2 separate regions of the Homo sapiens genome follow, and region 1 is linked to region 2. Evidence: promoter capture Hi-C in human tissues and cell types (Jung and others, 2019). All regions are on one chromosome and are shown on one strand. The core of a region is centred on a gene start or on the middle of the fragment in contact, and the rest is flanking DNA. Distances in the headings are between cores, read along the strand shown. Region 1 has its middle 4.4 kb from the start of TMEM219. Region 2 holds the start of MAPK3 (mitogen-activated protein kinase 3).

The links. The method cuts DNA at HindIII sites, captures the fragments that hold promoters and counts their contacts. A contact is called where the count stands out against the background at its distance.
Region 1: a fragment that was not itself captured here is called in contact with the fragment with the promoter of MAPK3 in region 2 in 1 of the 25 tissues and cell types used here (aorta).

Annotation. Positions count from the first base shown.
Region 1 is chr16:29,954,180-29,961,084 of GRCh38, reverse strand. No RefSeq gene overlaps it. Among named protein-coding and RNA genes, the nearest start is that of TMEM219, 4.4 kb to the left of the region's middle. The HindIII fragment of the contact is 4,191 bases long and covers 675-4,865 here.
Region 2 is chr16:30,121,353-30,128,460 of GRCh38, reverse strand. MAPK3 (mitogen-activated protein kinase 3) reads left to right here and starts at 5,241. Exons shown (of 9, transcript NM_002746.3): 1 at 5,241-5,421; 2 at 6,455-6,637. The coding sequence starts at 5,252. RefSeq lists a silencer at 4,880-5,249. The HindIII fragment of the contact is 30,345 bases long and covers 1-7,108 here.

The DNA of each region.
Region 1 (6,905 bases), core at 1,521-4,020, 160 kb after region 2:
AACCTCCGCCTCCCGGATTCAAGCTATTCTTCTGCCTCAGCCTTCCGAGTAGCTGGGACTACAGGCGCACGCCACCACGCCCAGCTAATTTTTGTATTTTTAGTAGAGACGAGGTTTCACCATGTTGGCCGGGATGGTCTTGATCTCTTGACTTCGTGGTCTGCCCGCATCGGCCCCCCAAAGTGCTGGGATTACAAGCGTGAACCACCACACCCGGCCGATTTTTTTTTTTTTTTTTTTTTTTTTTTGACAGAGCCTTGCTCTGTCATCGCCCAGGCTGGAGTTCAGTGGCACAATCAAAGCTCGCTGCAGTCTGGACGTCTTGGGCTCAAGAGATCCTCCCGCCTTAGCCTCCTGGGTAGTTGAGACAGCCGGTAGTCACACGCCACCCACCATGCCCAGCTAACTTTTGCATTGTGTGTAGAGACGGGGTTTTGCCATTTGCCATGTTGCCCAGGCATGTCTCGAACTCCTGACCTCAAGCAGTCCTCTCGCCTCGGCCTCCCAAAGTGCTGGGATTACAGGCGTGAGCCACTGTGCCCTGACTAGTCAAATGATTTTTGACAAGGGTGCTGTGGGCGTTCAGTAGAGAAAAGAGTCTTTTCTGTGCATCGAAGGACACAACAGGCTGGGCACGGTGGCTCAAGCCTGTAATCCTAGCACTTTGGGAGGCCGAGGCGGGTGGATCACCTGAGGTCAGGAGTTTGAGACCAGCCTGGCCAACATGGTGAAACCCCATCTCTACTAAAAGTACAAAATTAGCCAGGCATGGTGCCGGGCGCCTATAATCCCAGCTACTCCGGAGGCTAAGGCTGGAGAATCGCTTGAACCTGGGGAGTGGAGGTTGCAGTGAGCTGAGATTGCACCACTTCACTCCAGCCTGGGCAAAAGATCAAAACTCTGCCCCACAAAAAACAAAAACAAAAAAAGGAAAGGACAGTGAAAAGGCAACCAACAGAATGAGAGGAAATATCAAATCATATATCTTATAAGGGGTTAATATCTATAATATATAAAGAACTCCTACAACTCAACAACAGCCCAATCTCAGCTCACCTCAACCTCTGCCTCTCAGGCTCAAGGGATTCTCCTGCCTCAGCCTCCCGAGTAACTGAGATTACAGGCACACGCCACTATCACCTGACTAATTTTTGTACTTATTAGTAGAGACAGGGTTTCACCATATTGGCCAGGCTGATCTCAAACTCCTGACCTCAAATGATCCACCCGCCTTGGCCTCCCAAAGTACTAGGATTATAGGCGTGAGCCACCGCGCCCGGCCTAATTTTTTGTATTTTTAGTAGAGATGGGGTTTCATCATGTTGGCCAGGCTGGTCTCAAATTCCTGACCTCAGGTGATCCACCCGCCTCAGACTCACGAAGTGCTGGGATTACAGGTGTGAACCACCGCACCAGCCAAGTATACCAACATTTTGACTTAATCCACTCAACAAGCCCTCAAAGTGGATGTTATTCTGGAAAGCTGGCCCTTAGTTTAAGTCAGGGGTCCCCAACCCCTGGGCCGTGGGGCCAGTACCAGTCCGTGACGTGTTAGGAACTGAGCCGCACAGCAGGAAGTGAATGGCTGGTGAGAGAAGCTTCATCTGTATTTACAGCTACTCCCCATTGCCTGCATTACCGCCTCAGCTCTGCTTCCTGTCAGATCAGTAGCGGCATTAGATTATCATAGGAGCATGAATCCTATTGTGAACTGCGCATGCGAGGGATCTAGGTTGCTCCTTATGAGAATCTAATGCCTGATGATCTCTCACTGTCTCCCATCAACATCAGATGGGACTATCTAGTTGCAGGAAAACAAACTCAGGGATCCCACTGATTCTACTTTATGATGAGTTGTATAATTATTTTATTATACCTTATAATGTAATAATAATAGAAATAAAGTGCAAAATAAATGTAATGTGCTTGAATCATCCCGAAACCATTCCTCCCCTGGTGGAAAAATTGTCTTCCATGAAACTGGTCCCCAGTGCCAAAAAGGTTGGGGACTGCTGGTTTAATTTAACCAAGGTCATACATATATTAGGTGGCAGAAGTTGGGTTATGATTTAAGCCTGACCACAGCATGGCATGTGGGAATGAGAAAGCCCTGTTGAGGCTCGTTCATTCAATAAGCATCTGTTGGCTGCCAGGCTGTGTATTCTGTGGGCTGGGAATATAGTGGTGGACAAAGTATTCATGATCTCTGGCCTCCTGGAACTACAATCTGGCATGTTCAGGCTGGGCGCAGTGGCTCATGCCTGTAACCCCAGCACTTTGGGAGGCCGAGGCGGGAGGATCACCTGAGGTTGGGAGTTCAAGACTAGTCTGACCAACATGGAGAAACCCCATCTCTACTAAAAATACAAAATTATTCGGGCGTGGTGGCATATGCCTGTAATCTCAGCTACTTGGGAGGCTGAGGCAGGAGAATCGCTTGAACCCAGGAGGCGGAGGTTGCAGTGAGCCGAGATCACGCCATTGCACTCCAGCCTGGACAACAAGAGCGAAACTCCATCTCAAAAAAAAAAAAAAAAGCAACAGGAAAAGTGCATGTTTGCCTAAACCTTTTTTCTTCTTCTTCTTTTTTTTTTTTGGAGGCAGAGTTTCACTCTGGTTACCCAGGCTGGAGTGCAGTGGTGCGATCTCAGCTCACGGCAACCTCTGCCTCCTGAGTTCAAACAATTGTCCTGCCTCAGCCTCCCTAGTAGCTGGGACTACAGGCGTGCGTCACCAGGCCCAGCTAATTTTTTTGTATTTTTAGTAGAGACAGGGTTTTGCCATGTCATCCAGGCTGGTCTCGAACTCCTGACCTCAAGTGATCCATCCACCTTAAGCTTCCCAAAGTGCTGGGATTACAGGTGTGAGCCAGTGAGCCCCACCTTTTTTTTGTTTCTTTTTTTTTTTGAGACAGGGTCTTGGTCTGTCACCCAGGCTGGTGGGCAGTGGCGCAATCTTGGCTCAGTGCAACCTCCCTCCTCACCATGCTCAAGCAATCCTCCCACTTCATCCGCCCAAGTAGCTGGGACCACAAGTGTGCACCACCATGCCAAGCTATTTTTTTTTCTCTCTTTTTGTATTTTTAGTAGAGACGGGGTCTCACCATGTTGTGCAGTCTGGTCTCGAACTCCTGAGCTCAAGCCGTCTACCCGCCTCAGACTCCCAAAGTGCTGGGATTACAGGTGTGAGCCACCCTGCCCGGCCCCATCTAGACTTTTTTTTTTTGAGATGGAGTCTTGCTCTGTCGCCCAGACTGGAGTGAAGTGGTGTGATCTCGGCTCGCTGCAACCTCCAACTCCTGGGTTCAAGTGATTCTCCTGCCTCAGTCTCCTGAGTAGCTGGGATTACAGAGGCATGCCACTGTCCCTGGCTAATTTTTGTATTTTTAGTAGAGACGGGGTTTCACCATGTTGGCCAGGCTGGTCTCAAACTCCTGACCTCAAGTGATCCACCCGCCTTGGCCTCCCTAAGTGCTAGGATTACAGGTGTGACACATCGTGACTGGCCAAAAAAAAATTTTTTTTTGAGACGGAGTCTCGCTCTGTTGCCCATGCTGGAGTGCGGTGGCATGATCTCTGCTCACTGCAAGCTCCGCCTCCTGGGTTCACACCATTCTCCTGCCTCAGTCTCCCAAGTAGCTGGGACTACAGGTGCCTGCCACCACACCCAGCTAATTTTTTGTATTTTTTAGTAGAGACAGGGTTTCACCATGTTAGCCAGGGTGGTCTCGATCTCATGACCTCGTGATCTGCCCGCCTCGGCCTCCCAAAGTGCTGGGATTACAGGTGTGAGCCACCGCGCCCGGCTTTTTTTTTTTTTTTTTAAGGTGGAGTTTCACTCTTGTAGCCCAGGCTGGAGTGCAATGGCGCAATCTCGGCTCACTGCCACCTCCACCTCCCGGGTTCAAGCGATTCTCCCACCTCAGCCTCCTGATGGGACTGCAGGTGCCTGCCACCACGCCCGGCTAATTTTTGTATTTTCAGTAGAGACGGGGTTTCACCATCTTGGCCAGGTTGGTCTCAAATTCCTGACCTCTTAATCCCTCTTCGGCCTCCCAAAGTGCTGGGATTGCAGGCATGAACCACTGCACCCAGCCCAAAAAAATTTTTAAGTTAGCTGGATGCCCAGCCACTCTGTAGTCCCATCCTGTAGTCCCAGTACCTGTAGTCCCAGCCACTCTGGAGGCTAAGGCAGAAGGATCACTTGAGCTGCAATGAACCGAGATTGCCACTGCACTTCAGCCTAGGTAACAGAGTAAGACCCTGTCTCTAAAATAAATACATAAACAAATAAATATTACTTTATTAAATCATGTCAATAACAAAGCAAATTATTATCCCTATTTTATGGATGAGAAAACCAAGACTTAGCAATGTTAGCAAACTTGCCCGTGGTCTGCAGCTAGCCCACCAGCTACATGTCCCACACAGGAAAGAACAATAAAAATATAGAAAAAAAATAGAATAATATGATTGCCTGGAATAAGAAATATTTATTCCAAAATAGAATTTAAAAATAGGATAATATGATTACCTGGAATAAGAGATACTTTCTGAAGCAAGACACACAAATATAGAAACCATAAATGAAGAAGGTTGATAAATTTAATTGTTTAAAATTTAAAACCTCTGTATGATAAGATCCCACGTGAGTGAGAAGTGGGAGAAAATCACTGCGGTATATATAAACTGTCAAGGGATTAGAAGTTGCTAACATTTTTTGTTTTGTTTTGTTTTGAGATGGAGTCTCGCTCGGTCACCTAGGCTGGAGTGCAGTGGGTCCATCTCAGTTCACTGCAACCTCCAGCTCCCAGGTTCAAGCGATTCTCCTGCCTCAACCTCCTAAGTAGCTGGGATAACAGGCGCTTGCCACCACACCCAGCTAATTTCTTTTGTATTTTTAGTAGAAATGGGGTTTCACCATGTTGCTAGGCTGGTCTCGTACCTCTGACTACAAGTGATCCACCCACCTTGGCTTCCCAAAGTGCTGGGATTACAGGCGTGAGCCACCACGCCCAGCCTGTTTTGTTTTTTACTAAGGTAAAATTTACATAGAGTGAAATGCACAGATCTTAAAGTATAAAATTTCATGAGTTTTGACAAATGTAATGCCTATCTAAACACCCCAATCAAGACATAAAACACTTCTAGGTCCAAGAACTTCCTTCCCTTCCCTTTCTAGTCAGTCCCCACTGCCCGTGTCCATAGGCAACTACTATCCTGATTCCGTAACCAAAAATAGTTATTTTTTTCTTTAAAATGCCCAGATTCACTTAATAGACTGTAAGTGTTGTTAGAAGAGGATCTGCCTGATTTTTTTCTTAGTATTTGTGTGTGTGTGTGTGGTAAACAACATATATAATATAAAACTTGCCATTTTAGCTTTTTTTTTTTTTTTTTGAGACAGATCTCGCTCTGTTGCCCAGGCTGGAATGCAATGGTGCAATCTTGGCTCACTGCAACCTCCACTTCCTGAGTTCAAGTGATTCTCCTGCCTCAGCCTCCCAAGTAACTGGGATTACAGGTGTCTGCCACTACACCTGGCTAATTTTTTGTATTTTTAGTAGAGACGAGGTTTCACCGTATTGGCCAGGCTGGTCTTGAACTCCTGACCTCAGGTGATCCACCTGCCTTGGCCTCCGGAAGTGCTGGGATTACAGACATGAGCCACTGCACCTGGCCATTTTAGCTATTTTTAAGTGCACAGTTCAGTGGTATTAATTACATTCACAATTTTGTGCAACTGTCACTACTATTTCCAAAACTTTTTCATCACTCCAAACAGAAATTCTGTAACATTAAGCAATAACTTTCTTTTTTTTTATGGGAAAAAAATGGATGATTTATTATATAAAAGTATGATTGGCAGAATACAGAAAAACTGTTTTTTTTTACCTTTACGTGTTTATTACAAACACCAAACAAGGTGTAACAATTGGAAGAACGAATTTCAAACTACCCAAAATTATTCATTTGGTGAAATTATTCAAGTCACGAATGCTAAGTAAATAGATGCACTTCAAAATATGCAAAGTGTGGCTGGGTGCAGTGGCTCACACCTGTAATCCCAGCACTTTGGGAGGCCGAGGCAGCCAGACCACCTGAGGTCAGGAGTTTGAGAGAAGCCTGCCCAACATGGTGAAACCCCGTCTCTACTAAAAATACAAAAATTAGCCATGCATGATGGCAGGTGCCTATAATACCAGTTACTTGGGAGGCTGAGGCAAGAGAATCACTTGAACCTGGGAGGCAGATGTTGCAGTGAGCTGAGATCAAGCCACTGCACTCCAGCCTGGGCGACAGAGCAAGACTCTGTCTTAAAAAAAAGAAAAAAATCAATGTAATACACCACATTAATAGAATGAACCGGGGAGAAAACACATGGTCATCTCAATTGATGCAGAAAAGGCTTTGAAAAAATGAACACCCTTTCATGATTTTATTTATTTATTTATTTATTTATTTATTTATTTATTTATTTATTTATTTTGAGACGGAGTTTCACTCTTGTTGCCCAGGCTGGAGTGCAATGGCGTGATCTCGGCTCACCACAGCCTCTGCCTCCCAGGTTCAAACAATTCTCCTGCCTCAGCCTCTGGAGTAGCTGGGATTATAGGGAAGCGCCACCACACCCGGCTAATTTTTTTGTATTTCAGTAGAGATGGGGTTTCTCCATGTTGGTCAGGCTGGTCTCGAACTTCTGACCTCAGGTGATCTGCCTGCCTCGGCCTCCCAAAGTGCTGGGATTACAGGCGTGAGTGAGCCACTGCGCCCAGCCAAACCCCTTTCATGATTAAAACACTCAATAAACTAGAAATAGACAGGAATGTCCTCCAAATGATAAAGGCCGTAAACCACAGCTAACATCATACTCTACAGGGAAAGACTAAAAGCTTGTACCCTCAG
Region 2 (7,108 bases), core at 3,992-6,491:
ATCTCTCGAACCCAGAAGGTGGAGGTTGCAGTGAACCAAGATCGCACCATTGCACTCCAGCCTGGGTGACAGAGGGAGACTCTGTCTCAAAAAAACTAGTAACCAATAAGAGTCAAATCTAGGCCTTGCATTACAAGAGACAGAGACAGGGAGAAAGAGAGACAGAGAGAGAAGAGCTTTCCCTTGCTGGAGTTACTGAAAAAACCAGACACGAATCTGCAAGTACTAGCTTCCATCTGGCTACTCTGAGAGGAGGGGGTGGCTAAGAATGGAACCAACTCAGAAGAAAGTTGAGCTAAGGGAGGGATCAAAGTCCTAATGATACTGTTTGAGTCAGTGGAGCCAACTGTGTCTTCACAGTCAGTAAGCCAATGCACCTCCTTTCTTGCTTGAGTCCTTTTGAGTTGGGTCTTTGAAGACTTGTTACTGAAAGATTCCTGCCTACTACAACCTCATCAGGGCCATGTTTTAGGCATATCTGAGGAGGAAGGAGACAGACAGAAAGGAACCTAGTTAAGACCAGCCTGGGGCCGGGCGCAGTGGCTCATGCCTGTAATCCCAGCACTTTGGGAGGCCGAGGCGGGCAGATCACGAGGTCAGGAGTTCAAGACCAGCCTGGCCAACATGGTGAAACCCCATCTCTACTAAAAATACAAAAATTAGCCAGGCGTGGTGGCGGGCACCTGTAATCCCAGCTACTCGAGAGGCTGAGGCAGGAGAATTGCTTGAACCCAGGAGGTGGAGGTTGCAGTGAGTTGAGATCGAGCCACTGCTCTCCAGCCTGGGTGACAGGGCAAGACTCTGACTCAGGGGGAAAAAAAAGAACCAGCCTGGGCAGTATAGCCAGACTGTCGTGTCTACAAAAAATTTAAAAAATTAGGCCAGGCGCAGTGGCTGTCACCTGTAATCCTAGCACTTTGGGAGGCCAAGGCAGGTGGATCACTTGAGGTCAGGAGTTTGAGACCAGCCTGGCCAACATGGTGAAACCCATCCTAATAAAAATACAAAAAGAATTAGCCAGATGTGGTATTGTGTACCTGTAGTGCCAGCTACTTGGGAGGCTGAGGAAGGGAGATCATTTGAGCCTGGGAGGTTGAGACTGCAGTGAGCTGTGATCATGCCACTGCACTCTAGCCTGGGCAACAGAGCGAGACCCTGTCTCAAAAAAAAGGAAAGAAATGAAATGAAAAGAAAGGCCAGGCGCAGTGGCTCACACCTGTACCTGTAATCCCAGCATGATGGGAGGCCAAGGTGGGCAGATCTCTTGAGACCAGGAGTTCAAGACTAGCCTGGGTAACATGGTGAACCTCGTCTCGATACAATACAATAGTAAAGGCAAAGTGACATGAGAATCACAAGGAAATATCAGACAAACCCAAACTGAGGGACATTCTACAAAATAACTGACCTATAATCTTCAAAAGTCTACGGTCATGAAAGACCAGAATACTACTACTAATAATAAGAAGAATAAATAACTATTTCAGGCCAGGCATGGTGGCTCATGCCTGTAATCCCAGCACTTTGGGAGGCCAAGGTGGGCGGATCATTTGAGACCAGCCTGGGCAACACGGTGAAACCCCATCTCTACCAAAAATACTAAAATTAGCTGGGCATGGTGACACATGCTTGTGGTCCCAGCTACTCAGAAGGTTGAGGTGAGAGGATCATTTGAGCCTGAGAGGCAGAGGTTGCAGTGAGCCATGACCGCACCACTGCAGTCCAGCCTGGGCGACACAGCATGACACTGCCTCAAAAAAAAAAAAAAAGAAAGAAAGAAAGAAAAAAAGAAGTGCCAGACCTTGAAAATCACAAAAAGCTAATAACTGGTTTAAGATTTAATCTGGAGCCAGCCGAAGTGGCTCATGACTGTAATCCTAGCACTCCGAAAGGCCGAGGTGAGAGGATCACTTGAGCCTAGAAATTTGAGACCAGACTGGGCAACATTAGCTAGAACCCTTCTCTACAAACATTCTAAAAATTAGCCAAGCCAGGCACGGTGGCTCACACCTGTAATCCCAGCACTTTGGGAGGCCAAAGTGGGCAGATCACTTGAGGTCAGGAGTTTGAAACCTGCGTGGCCAACATGGTGAAACCCCATCTTTACTAAATATATAAAAATTAGCCAGGCGTGGTGACGTGTGCCGGTAATCCCAGCTACTTGTAAGGCTGAGGCAGGAGAATCGCTTGACCTGGGAAGTAGAGGTCAAGGTGAGCCGAGATTGTGCCATTGCATTCCAGCCTGGGCACAGAGGGAGACTCCATCTCAAAAAAAAAAAAAAAAATGCTGGGCGCAGTGGCTCACACCTGTAATCTCAGCACTTTGGGAGGCCGACACGGGCGGATCACGAGGTCGGGAGATAGAGACCATCCTGGCTAACACGGTGAAACCCCCTCTCTAATAAAAATACAAAAAATTAGCCAGGCATGGTGGCACACGCATGTAGTTCCACCTACTCAGGAGGCTGAGGCAGGAGACCCGGGAGGCAGAGGTTGCAGTGAACTGAGATTGCACCATTGCACTCCAGCCTGGGCAACAGAGCAAGACTCCGTTTCAAAAACAAAAAAAAAAAATTAGCTAGGCGTGGTTGTGTGTGCTAGGCATGGTGGCAGGATCTGTTGAGCCTAAGAGTTCGAGCCTGCAGTGACCTATGATCTTGCCACTACACTCCACTCCAGCCTGGGCAACAGAGCAAGACCCTGTGCTAGAAAAATAATTCTGCCGGGCACAGTGGCTCACGCCTGTACTCCTAGCACTTTGGGAGGCCGAGGCAGGTGGATCATGAGGTCAGGAGATGGAGACCATCCTGGCTAACACGGTGAAACCCCGTCTCTACTAAAAATACAAAAAATTAGCCAGGCATGGTGGCGGGTGTCTGCAGTCCCAGCTACTCAGGAGGCTGAGGCAGGAGAATGGCGTGAACCTGGGAGGCGGAGCTTGCAGTGAGCTGAGATCGCGCCACTGCACTCCAGCCTGGGTGACAGAGCGTAAGCTTCCACATCGTTTTCCCTCTGTCCCTTTTTTTGGGGGGGTGGGGGTGGGGGCAGGGTCTCTCACTCTGTCACCCAGGCTGGAGTGCAGTGGCACCATCAGAGCTCACTGCAACCTCAACATCCTGGGCTCAACTGATCCTCCTGCCTCAGCCTCCCAAGTAGCTGGGATTACGGACGCATGCCACCACACCCAGCTCATTTTTGTATTTTTGGTAGAGATGGGATCTCACTATGTTGCCCAGGCTGGTCTCCAGCTGCTGGGGTCAAGCAATCAGCCTGCCTCAGCCTCCCAAAGTGCTGGAATCACAGAGGTGAGCCACCACGACCAGCCAGCATCATTTTCCAGTTAAATGTTAATAGTATCTACTTCATATGGCTGCTGTGAGGATTACAGGAGGTAGTGTACATAAAAGTGCCTGGCAAGCCAGGTGCCGTAATCTCAGCACTCTGGGAGGCCAATGTGGGTGGATCACCTGAGGTCAAGAGTTTGAGACCAGCCTGGCCAACATGGTGAAACCTCGTCTCTACTAAAAATACAAAAATTAGCCGGGCGTGGTGGCTGGCGCCTGTAATCCTAGCTACTTGGGAGGCTGAGGTGGGAGAATGACTTGAACCCAGGAGGTAGGGGTTGCAGTGAGCTTGCACTCCTGCCTGGGTGATAGAGCAAGACTCCGTCTCAAAAAAACAAACAAACAAACAAACAAAAAAAAACCAAAAGTGCCTGGCACAGAAGAGATGGTAAGTCTACATTAGTTGAATATGCGTCTATGAACCAGAACAAATCCCAGTCCAGTCCTCCAAGGAAATGCCAACCTCAGTCACTAGAGGGGAATCTCAGTCACACTCTAACTGAGCTTCCAGCAGCAGGAGGTGGCAGCTTGCAGCTCTGATACACCAGCCTTTCCTATGCTGGGAAACTCACTCCCACTCAGCAAACCTGGCTCCATGCTGAACTCCATAGTGTTTTCTCTGAGTCACTATATTCTCCCGCAGTTGCAAAATGATCTGGCAAAAGTCCCTCTAGGGTTTTTACTGCTTACTGAGTAACATCCAAACTCCTTGCCAGAATCCAGAGCCTTCCTAATCTGGCCCCAACCTACCTCTCCAGGCTGAAACCTCATCATTTTTTTACTGCAGCCATGCTGGACAAGTTATGCTTCTGCCTTTATGCCTCAGCTCACCCCGATCCTTCTCCTTCATGCCTTTCTTCAGTCCCTACCTTCTGCAACCCTACTTTTTCTCTTCTTCTTTTTGTTTTTTGTTTTTGAGACGGAGTGTTGCTCTGTCGCCCAGGCTGGAGTGAAGTGGTGCAATCTCAGCTCACTGCAACCTCCTCCTCTCGGGTTCAAGCGATTCTCCTGCCTCAGTCTCCCAAGTAGCTTGGATTACAGGCACGTGCCACCATGCCCAGCTAATTTTTGTATTTTTAGTAGAGACGGGGTTTCACCATGTTGGTCAGGCTGGTCTCAAACTCAGGTGATCTGCCCACCTCGGCCTCCCAAAGTGCTGGGATTACAGGCGTGAGCCACCGTGCCCAGCCCCCCAATTTTTTTTTTTAATTAGCAGGGCGTGGTGGCGCGCACTCGTAGTCCCAGCTCTTTGGGAGGCTGAGGTGGGAGGATCACTTGACCCCAGGGAGGTTGAGGCTGCAGTGAGCAATTATTGCACCACTACACTCCAGCCTGGACGACAGAGAGAGACCCTGTCTCTATAATAAAATAAAAACAGTCTAGGACTCTGAGAGGCATGGAATTAGAAAGAGTCTCTGTGTCAGAAGACACCATTTTGAGTCTCAGCTGTCACTACTAGTGACCTTACCCAAGTTAGTAAACCTAACTCTCAGATTCTCCATCTGTAAAATTTGATCCATTTATTAGAACATTATTTTTAACCTAGGGTGATCCCGGGCCCAGGTTCTGGTGGGCTGCCGCATACATTGGCTGGGTGGCTCTGGTAGGTCACGCCCTGGCCGCTTCGCCATCGAGGGGAGGGTGAGGACAGTCTCCGAGGCGGCGCTGCCGAACCTCCCGGTGACCTGGAGGCCGCGGAGCCCGCAGGGACCCATGGCCCCCGAACCTGGGGCAAGAAGGGCGGGCGCGCGCGGGGCGGGTCACGTGACAGCTCCAGGCCCACGCGGGGCCGGGGCAAGGGCGGGGCCTGGCGCGCGCGGCCCTGCGGGTGACAGGCAGGCGGGAAGGGGCGGGGCCTCGGGCGGGGCCGCCGTGGGGAGGAGGGCGGTGGGAGGGGAGGAGTGGAGATGGCGGCGGCGGCGGCTCAGGGGGGCGGGGGCGGGGAGCCCCGTAGAACCGAGGGGGTCGGCCCGGGGGTCCCGGGGGAGGTGGAGATGGTGAAGGGGCAGCCGTTCGACGTGGGCCCGCGCTACACGCAGTTGCAGTACATCGGCGAGGGCGCGTACGGCATGGTCAGGTGAGGGGGCGTTCCGGGGGAGGGGGTGCCCTCAGGGGAGGGGGCTTCGCGGGAGAGGAGGAGGAGGCGCCGAGCGCTTTCCGGGACGTGGAGACGCGGAGCGTCCCGAGGAGGCAGGAGACTCGGGATGATCGGGAGCGTCCCAGGGAGGGGGCCCCTGAGTGCTTTCTGGGGGAGGGGGCGCTGCCTACGTCCTCAGGGGAGCAGGCTTGGAGGCTTTGAGTCCACCCTTCTGTAATGATGGGAGGGGCATCCGAGTGCATGTGGGGGCCCGCGGGGACCCTAGTGACACGGGGCGAGGCCCAGAGGATGAGTACTCTCGGGGAGGCGACATCCTTAGTGAAGAGGCAGTGGAGGGCCCGTTTTGGGGGAAAGGGTGTCTTGGATTCCCCCTGTGAGGCAGTGCCAGGGAGCCTGGGGGAGAAGAGCCGAGATCAGGGTGGGGCAGGGCTTTGGCCCCACCACCCCAGGGGCCCAGAGAGAGATGAGGCGGCCAGGAGTGCCACCTGCATGTTTTGGGAGGGGTCTGTGAGTGCCCCCGGCCCCACCGTGTGCTCTGGGCCTCTATCCCTCTGGGACAGCCCCGCTGCCCGGATCCCTCACCCTGGGACCCTCCCCTGCCCTGTCCATTCTCTCCTGCCCCTCCCCTGGCTGCCACCTTCCCAGTATTTGCCCCATGGTGTGTCCCCAGCATCTGCACCCCCGGACCTGTCTTGGGTTAAGGAGCCTTTCCTGGGAATGGGGGCGAAGGGTTCAGGGCCAGTAGAATGGAAGGGGATTGAGGAGAGGGGAAGTCAGTGAGCGGTCAGTCTCTTCCTCTGTTTGTAAAGTCACCGAAGGGCCGCCTGGCTGGTCCCCAGCTTTCTCTCTGGAGATCCCAGGCCTCCACAGCAGGAAGGAACCAGCATTGTTTATGATTTGACCAGAGCCAGCTCCTGCTCTCTCCCCTCCCTGCCAAGGCCTGGGTGGGGCCACCAGGCCCGGACTCCCCCTTTGTAAGGCCACAGCAGCAGCCTCTCTCCGGTCCCCTCAGCTCGGCCTATGACCACGTGCGCAAGACTCGCGTGGCCATCAAGAAGATCAGCCCCTTCGAACATCAGACCTACTGCCAGCGCACGCTCCGGGAGATCCAGATCCTGCTGCGCTTCCGCCATGAGAATGTCATCGGCATCCGAGACATTCTGCGGGCGTCCACCCTGGAAGCCATGAGAGATGTGTATCCTTCACCTTGGCCAGTCGGCTGGTCAGGCACGGCCTCGCAGCTGGGCTGGGGACCCGTTGCTTGGTTTCTGTTTCCATCTTACCCACCACCCTCCAAAACAAACCCAGTAAAATAAACTTTCCTGCAGAGGGGAAGCCACAGTGTAACAGGACTTGGAGACCTCTGATGAACCCAGGCCTGCAGCGGCCCAGGCAGTATGGCCTCGAGCAAGTGGGTTCTCTGCTCTGTGCCCCAGGGGGAAGGGCTAGGCAGGATGGTCTCTATGGGAGTGGTGTCTTCTGACGTCGGCAGTTCTGAGACATGACCTGGCCTCTGCCCACAGTCACTTCTTGCTAAGGAATGGATGATTCTTTCCTCTCTTTCCTCCTTGCCCAGACCGGAAGGGAGACAGGGAGAAAGAAAACTGTCAGCTGGGCGTGGTGGCTCACGCCTGTAATCCCAGCACTTTGGGAGGCTGAGGTGGGA